Linked DNA regions of Homo sapiens: region 2 is linked to region 1. The links are contacts of gene promoters, found by promoter capture Hi-C in blood cells and fetal thymus (Javierre and others, 2016). All regions are on one chromosome and are shown on one strand. Each heading gives the region's core, a stretch centred on a gene start or on the middle of the fragment in contact. The rest is flanking DNA. Distances are from core to core; before and after follow the strand shown. Region 1 overlaps SDHC (succinate dehydrogenase complex subunit C). Region 2 holds the start of UFC1 (ubiquitin-fold modifier conjugating enzyme 1).

What was found. The method cuts DNA at HindIII sites, captures the fragments that hold promoters and counts their contacts. A CHiCAGO score of 5 or more calls a contact.
Region 2: a contact is called between the fragment with the promoter of UFC1 here and a fragment that was not itself captured in region 1, in 2 of 17 cell types (M0 macrophages and M2 macrophages). The highest score is 5.9, in M0 macrophages.

The regions. Positions count from the first base shown.
Region 1 is chr1:161,361,257-161,364,725 of GRCh38, forward strand. SDHC (succinate dehydrogenase complex subunit C) reads left to right here. Exons shown (of 6, transcript NM_003001.5): 6 at 1,073-1,950. The coding sequence ends at 1,177. Among named protein-coding and RNA genes, the nearest start is that of CFAP126, 4.9 kb to the right of the region's middle. The HindIII fragment of the contact is 1,452 bases long and covers 789-2,240 here.
Region 2 is chr1:161,152,684-161,156,344 of GRCh38, forward strand. UFC1 (ubiquitin-fold modifier conjugating enzyme 1) reads left to right here and starts at 1,295. Exons shown (of 6, transcript NM_016406.4): 1 at 1,295-1,437. The coding sequence starts at 1,315. RefSeq lists enhancers at 877-1,657, 895-2,094, 983-1,032, 1,123-1,172, 1,213-1,602. The HindIII fragment of the contact is 16,464 bases long and covers 1-3,661 here.

The DNA of each region.
Region 1 (3,469 bases), core at 265-2,764:
ATATATACTTGTATATATATGGCACCACTTAGTAATGGTAAATATTGTTTTATCAACTTTTGCTATATTATATATACATATCTATTGGGTTCCAGTTTTAAAGGTATTTCTTAGTGGAGTCACAGTCAAAACAAAATTGAGAAATAGTGTTCTAGATCTCAGAGTATCCTTTAGAATACTAGTCCTCTGATAAATAGAGTTTCCCTCTATAAAAAGATTCTGAGATTGACTGTATCTAGGAAATCAGGCATATTATATCTCTCTTTTGGAGATTCACAGTGTGCATTAGTAAACTGTAAGAGGCTGGGCGCAGTGGCTCACGCCTGTAATCCCAGCATTCTGGGAGGACAAGGCGGGCAGATCACGAGATCAGGAGATCAAGACCATCCTGGCTAACTCGATGAAACCCCATCTCTACTAAAAATACAAAAACAAAATTAGCCAGGCGTGGTGGCGTGTGCCTCTAGTCCCAGCTACTTGGGAGGCTGAGGCAAGAGAATGGCATGAACCTGGGAGGTGGAGCTTGCAGTGAGCTGAGATCATGCCACTGCACTCCAGCCTGGGCGACAGAGTGAGAGTCCGTCTCAAAAAAAAAAAAAAAAAAAAAACTGTTTAGAAAGTCTTGCAGTTAAATGTTTATGAACTTTGTATGACCACAGAACTTTTTTTTTTTTGGCCCATACAATGGCTTTCAACATTCTGAGAGCAAGTGTTTGGAAGAATACACCTTGAGAAACATTAATCTAGATGTGTGGTCCTGAGGAAAAGTTGTATCTATTCATTCTGGAAGCTTTTGTATACCGTATGGGGCCTGTGGCATTCTAGAGAACATTCCTCCTACCATCACCACACAATAGAACCTGATTTTCTGTCATTGGAATAAGTGGATAATAGGTTCCATACTGTGGGTTTTGAGAAGGGTAAAGGTGGGGCATAAGGGTAGAAGCGCTTTTCTCTAGAATCATGCTGAGAGGAGATATCTATTCCTTTAGGTAGAATTACTTTCTGAGACAGGAACTGTTAATGTCCTATTTACTGAAATTCCTTTTTTTTTTTTTTGCTTTGTCCACAGATGTGGGACCTAGGAAAAGGCCTGAAGATTCCCCAGCTATACCAGTCTGGAGTGGTTGTCCTGGTTCTTACTGTGTTGTCCTCTATGGGGCTGGCAGCCATGTGAAGAAAGGAGGCTCCCAGCATCATCTTCCTACACATTATTACATTCACCCATCTTTCTGTTTGTCATTCTTATCTCCAGCCTGGGAAAAGTTCTCCTTATTTGTTTAGATCCTTTTGTATTTTCAGATCTCCTTGGAGCAGTAGAGTACCTGGTAGACCATAATAGTGGAAAAGGGTCTAGTTTTCCCCTTGTTTCTAAAGATGAGGTGGCTGCAAAAACTCCCCTTTTTTGCCCACAGCTTGCCTACTCTCGGCCTAGAAGCAGTTATTCTCTCTCCATATTGGGCTTTGATTTGTGCTGAGGGTCAGCTTTTGGCTCCTTCTTCCTGAGACAGTGGAAACAATGCCAGCTCTGTGGCTTCTGCCCTGGGGATGGGCCGGGTTGGGGGGTGGGTTGGTGAGGCTTTGGGTGCCACTGCCTGTGGGTTGCTGGCTTAAAGGACAATTCTCTTCATTGGTGAGAGCCCAGGCCATTAACACCTACACAGTGTTATTGAAAGAAGAGAGGTGGGGGTGGAGGGGAATTAGTCTGTCCCAGCTAGAGGGAGATAAAGAGGGCTAGTTAGTTCTTGGAGCAGCTGCTTTTGAGGAGAAAATATATAGCTTTGGACACGAGGAAGATCTAGAAAATTATCATTGAACATATTAATGGTTATTTCTTTTTCTTGGATTTCCAGAAAAGCCTCTTAATTTTATGCTTTCTCATCGAAGTAATGTACCCTTTTTTTCTGAAACTGAATTAAATACTCATTTTATCTTTGACTCTCCTTGAAATCTAGAGAAACCAAGAAAATGGCTGTTGGGAAGGAACCAATTTCCTCCTCTTCCCTCGGGTCTCAGGCATTTACATCCTCCCTCTCCCCGCAATCTGACCTTTACCAGGAGGGAAACAGTTCTCCTACATCTCATCATTGGAAAAGTTTTCAGGGAATCAGATAGAACTTAGCCAGAGATTTAAATATCACAGAAAAGCCTCAGAGAAGGAAGGAGAAAAAGAAAAGAAGTGACGCATGTAGAGTGCTTTTGGGTTATAGGCACCAAAATCCCATTAAGGACTGATTATAAGCTTCATGGTACAGTTCAGCAAATTATGATTCATTGAGGGGCACAGAGGACCAGTGTTGGTGACAGCTAGGGGATGATGACCTGAGGTTATAGGCTTGGGGTGAATGAAGCATAGAGTTTTTTTTTAAAAAAGAAGGGATTGTTGAAAACCTGGCAAAAATGTATAATTTAATGAGAAAACTTGCTGCTTTTAAAATCCATATAGGCCAGGCTTTAGCAGGCATGCTGTTTTGATAGTTTTTGGGAACTCTGGAATAAGAGACTTATCTCATCTGTCACTTCGAGTTGTTGGCCAGCCAGTTAAAGCTGTGGGTCGAAGAGGGGAAATGTTAACTGGCTGGTGTCAATTGGATAGGAAGACCTTAGTTAAGGTGGGGACCCGCTGTTTTAACAGTCTTCATTCAGGGTCCCAAATAGTATTTGGCTTTAAGTAATGATTGGTTTTCCCTTTTTACTAGAGGGGCCCTGGGAAGTCCTTGTACCTTTCCTCCATTTTAAACCAGCTGTTCTCTACTTTGTCCTTGGAATGAGGGACAAGTGATCATGACAGAACACTTTGTCATTGGGACTGGGAAAGGTTTGGCAAGGGCATTAAATTTAACAGCCAGTGCCAGGAAAATATAAAATGGGGTCAATGATAAACAGCTGTTAGAGGCTGGAAAATGGGTAGGGCAGTTGAATTTTTTGGTGGTTTCGTACCATTTGGGTGATTGAAGCATGGTAGTGGGTGGGTGGGGGGTGTGACAGAGCATCATGTTTGTTATTCTGCCTTAAATTTCTACTTACTGTCTTTTTCTTCTCTGTCTTCCAATCACTTTAATATCTTCAATTTTCAAACTATATTTGTACTTGGGCTTAGATAGAAAGTCTTACACAAGCATAGTATCTTCTACTTTGGTTTTCCCTACCTTTTCTTCCCCACCTTCTCCAAACACACATATACATACTCTACTCAATTCTATTTCTGATTTTGTAGTTGTTAGTTGTCCATGCTCAGGATAAAAAATGAGTGGGTAGGGTTGAGGGACTGGTTCTTTGAGGTTCTGCCCTTTTTCCATGATTCAGACCAACTTTCTCTTGGTCATTTCTGGAGTATAACTGACTCAATTCTTGTAAAAATGTGTTCCACCCAAACCACTGTATGTTCTTTTCCCTACTTTATTTTCTCCTACCTTCCTTCTCCTAATTGTGTTACAAGAGGCAGCCATAGCAAGAATGGAAAATCCAG
Region 2 (3,661 bases), core at 45-2,544, 210 kb before region 1:
CACCTGCCTTGGCCTCCCAAGTTGCTGGGATTACAGGCTTGAGCCACCACGCCAGCCAAACAGGATATTTAAATTAAAGCCAAAATGGCCGGCGCGGTGGCTCACGCCTGTAATCCCAGCACCTTGGGAGGCTGAGGCAGGTGGATCACCTGAGGTCAGGAGTTCAAGACCAACCTGGCCAACATGGCGAAACCCGGTCTCTACTAAAAATACAAAATCAGCCGGGCGTGGTAGCACATGCCTGTAATCCCAGCTACTCAGGACGCTGAGGCAGGAGAATCAATTGAACCCGGGAGGCGGAGGTTGCGGTGAGCCGAGATCATGCCATTGCACTCCAGCCTGGGCAACAAGAGTGAAACTCGGTCTCCAAAAAAAAAAAAAAAAAAAGCAAAAATTAATGTGTTTAGATTTTAAGTCCAACTGGAGTTTGTTTATTGTTTCCCCACAAGTAATCCCAGCACTTTGGGGAGGCTGGGGCAGGAGGATCGCTTGAGCCCGGGAGATGGAAGATGCAGTAAGCTATGATCGTACCACTGTACTCCAGCCTGGGCAACAGATTGAGACACTGTCTAAAAAAAAAAAAGTCTAGGACTCAGTGAATGGCTAGACTAAGGCAGAAATCTTGCAGGGATTTGTCTTTTGATTCTGCATGGTTTCTAATCTTTATCAGGAGTTAAACATCCTTCTACAGGATAACTGCATCTAGAGGCAGGACTATATATAAGCAAAGGAAAAGTTCTTCGAAGAGGAAACACGAATCGCTCGTTTTAGGAAGTCAGTGCCTTGAAAAGCGCCTTGGGGTTGGGGGCTCGGGGCTGGGGGAGGGATAGCATTAGGAGAAATACCTAATGTAAATGACGAGTTGATGGGTGCAGCAAACCAACATGGCACAAGTATACCTATGTATCAAACTTGCACGTTGTGCACATGTACTCTAGAACTTAAGGTATAATAAAAATAAATAAATAAGTAAAAATGCCTTCAGCAGCCTGAAGTTCTAAGAGCTTTCCAAGTTTGGGAAGGTGTCCGGGTTTTCTGCGATTACTTCTCTGAGCATGAACGGAAGTCACCCTTTGTGCCTTATGCGGTGATTTTAATGATAGGTGTCATATATAGGACGGAGTAATCTGTTTACATTCTGTTCTTCTCGATGCACTCACAAGCGGGTAACTAGGTGACAAGAAAACAAAGATCTTATTCAAAAGAGGTCTTACAGCAACCCAACGTCTCATCTTCCCATAGTAAAGATGACGGCGCCTTGAGGTAAGCTACAGGCAACACCACTTCCGCGTTTCTCTTGCGCCCTGGTCCAAGATGGCGGATGAAGCCACGCGACGTGTTGTGTCTGAGATCCCGGTGCTGAAGACTAACGCCGGACCCCGAGATCGTGAGTTGTGGGTGCAGCGACTGAAGGAGGAATATCAGTCCCTTATCCGGGTTAGTTGTGTTTCTACAGTCTAACGCGTAGCATAAGGGTTGGGAGAAATCAGGTGTCCTCAATAATAGGCTCCGTGTGGAAGCCGCTTCCGGTTTTTAAGTTTAACGCCCAAATTCATAGAAATGGGACTATTGTGGGGCTCGGGGACTAAGGAGGGATGGTGGGGAGAGGGCAAAAAAGACTCGGGTGAGGTGCACAGTGGGGCCAGACCTTGCGGCTAAAAGCAGCAGTTATTTTAGGGATACGCTTCCCCAGAAGGTGACGTGTCTCCCTGGCTACAGGTGTTTGTTCACCTGGATGTGAACAAAAATCCTCAGGGCGCCAACTCCCAGTCCGCATCTCTCTGCCCCCTTCTTCACTCTTCACTGTTTTGTTTGTTTGTTTGACGGAGTCTCGCTCTGTTGCTAGGCTGGAGTGCAGTGGCGCGATCTCGGCTCACTGCAACCTCCGACTCCCGGGTTCAAGCGAGTCTCCTGCCTCAGCCTCCTGAGTAGCTGGGACTACAGGCGCGCGCCACCACACCCAGCTAATTTTTGTATTTTCAGTAGAGACGGGGTTTCACCGTGTTGGCCAGGATGGTCTCGATCCCCTGACCTCGTGATCCTGATCCACCCGCCTCGGCCTCCCAAAGTGCTGAGATTACAGGCGTGAGCCACCGCGCCTGGCCTCACTCTTCACTCTTTCAAGCCACATTAGGGCTGAAAATTCAAGTAGGTGTTAACTACAGAGAGTTGGGGAGTTTAGCTCATAGTTAGAAACGGGCTGTCTTCTCAGTTATCTCTACTGTGGAAGGTGAGAAAAGTTTGTCTTCCTTGTAGTTTCTGCCTGCTTCAAAGACCAGCAGTTCTAGTTCTCCTACCTCATGTATTCATTCACTAAAAAAAAAAAATTACTGTGCATATAGAACCTAGGGAGGAGATACCAAGCCGAATAAGGAGGAACTTACTGAGGTAGACAAAACCAGATCATTATAATACAGTGTTTAAGTGGAGAGAGACTGAGACAGATATGGACAGATATAAAGCGAGAAATGGCTAGGATGTTTTGAGAGCATAAGAGGAGACATCCAGTTTGCATTCGGTCACGGAAGGTTTCCTGGAAGAGGTAATGCTTGAGCTGAAACTTAAAGAGTAAACATAAGCTAGCCTGATAAAACATAAGAGTAGAAGGACATTCAAGCCAAAAGGGACAGCATGAGCAAAGGCATAGAATCTAGAAACGGCACAGGCACCAGCATGATGTGTTTGAAGAAACAAAGTAGCTCAGAGTTGTTAGAGCATCAAATGTGAGGCAGGGAATGGTAGACAAAGCTAGGAGACATATTTGAGCACTTGAATTTTCTCTTGGAGGCTTTGGGATACCGTTAAAAGTTATTAAGCTGAGGAATTACATGGCCGATTTGGGTTTAGATCAGTCACATTGGCAATAAGGGGAAAATACAATTGACAGGGACAAGACTGAAGGTAAGAGACAAGTTAGGCTGTCATTAATCTCAGCGAAACAAAAGGCAATCTAAACTAGGCAGTTGTGAGGATAGAGAGGAGAGGTAGATTTGTAGAATATTCAGAAGGTAAAATTAGCATAACATGGATTAGTGTAGTAAGGGATAGGGAGGGTCAAAGATGATTCCCAGGTTTTTGCCTTGGGTGAATGCTCATACTGCCACCTGAAATTGATAATTCAGGAGGATAATTCAGGAAGTGTATCCAAAGGAATATAAAAAATTCCAGATGGAAATGCTGAGTTTGAAGTACCTGTGAAATGAAGGTCAAAACGTCAACATACAGTTGGATACTAAAGGCTGAAGTTCTGAGGAAAGATCTGGACCAAAGATGAAAATCTGGGAGTCATTAGCCTGTGGGTGTTAGTTGAAACCAGGACTATATGAGGCTAGAAGGGAGTTACCCAGGGAAGGAGTCTATCATTAAATGAGTTGTGGGCTGAGGGCAGACACTATCAGAGAAGTGAGAGGAGAATCCAGATGGTATCTTCAGGTCTTTTGTGCTTGCTAAATTGAGTGGAGCCCATTCTATTCTCTGTTCTGGGCAGACCCCCACTTACCAGTATAGCCTTGTCTTCAGCTTTGCTAATGTTAGAAAAATTAGGTAAACATATTAAGAAAAAGTAGGCTGGGCGTGGTGGCTCACGCCTCTAATCCCAGCACTTTGGGAGGCCAAGGTGGGCGGATCACGAGGTCAGGAGATCGAGACCATCCTGGCTAAT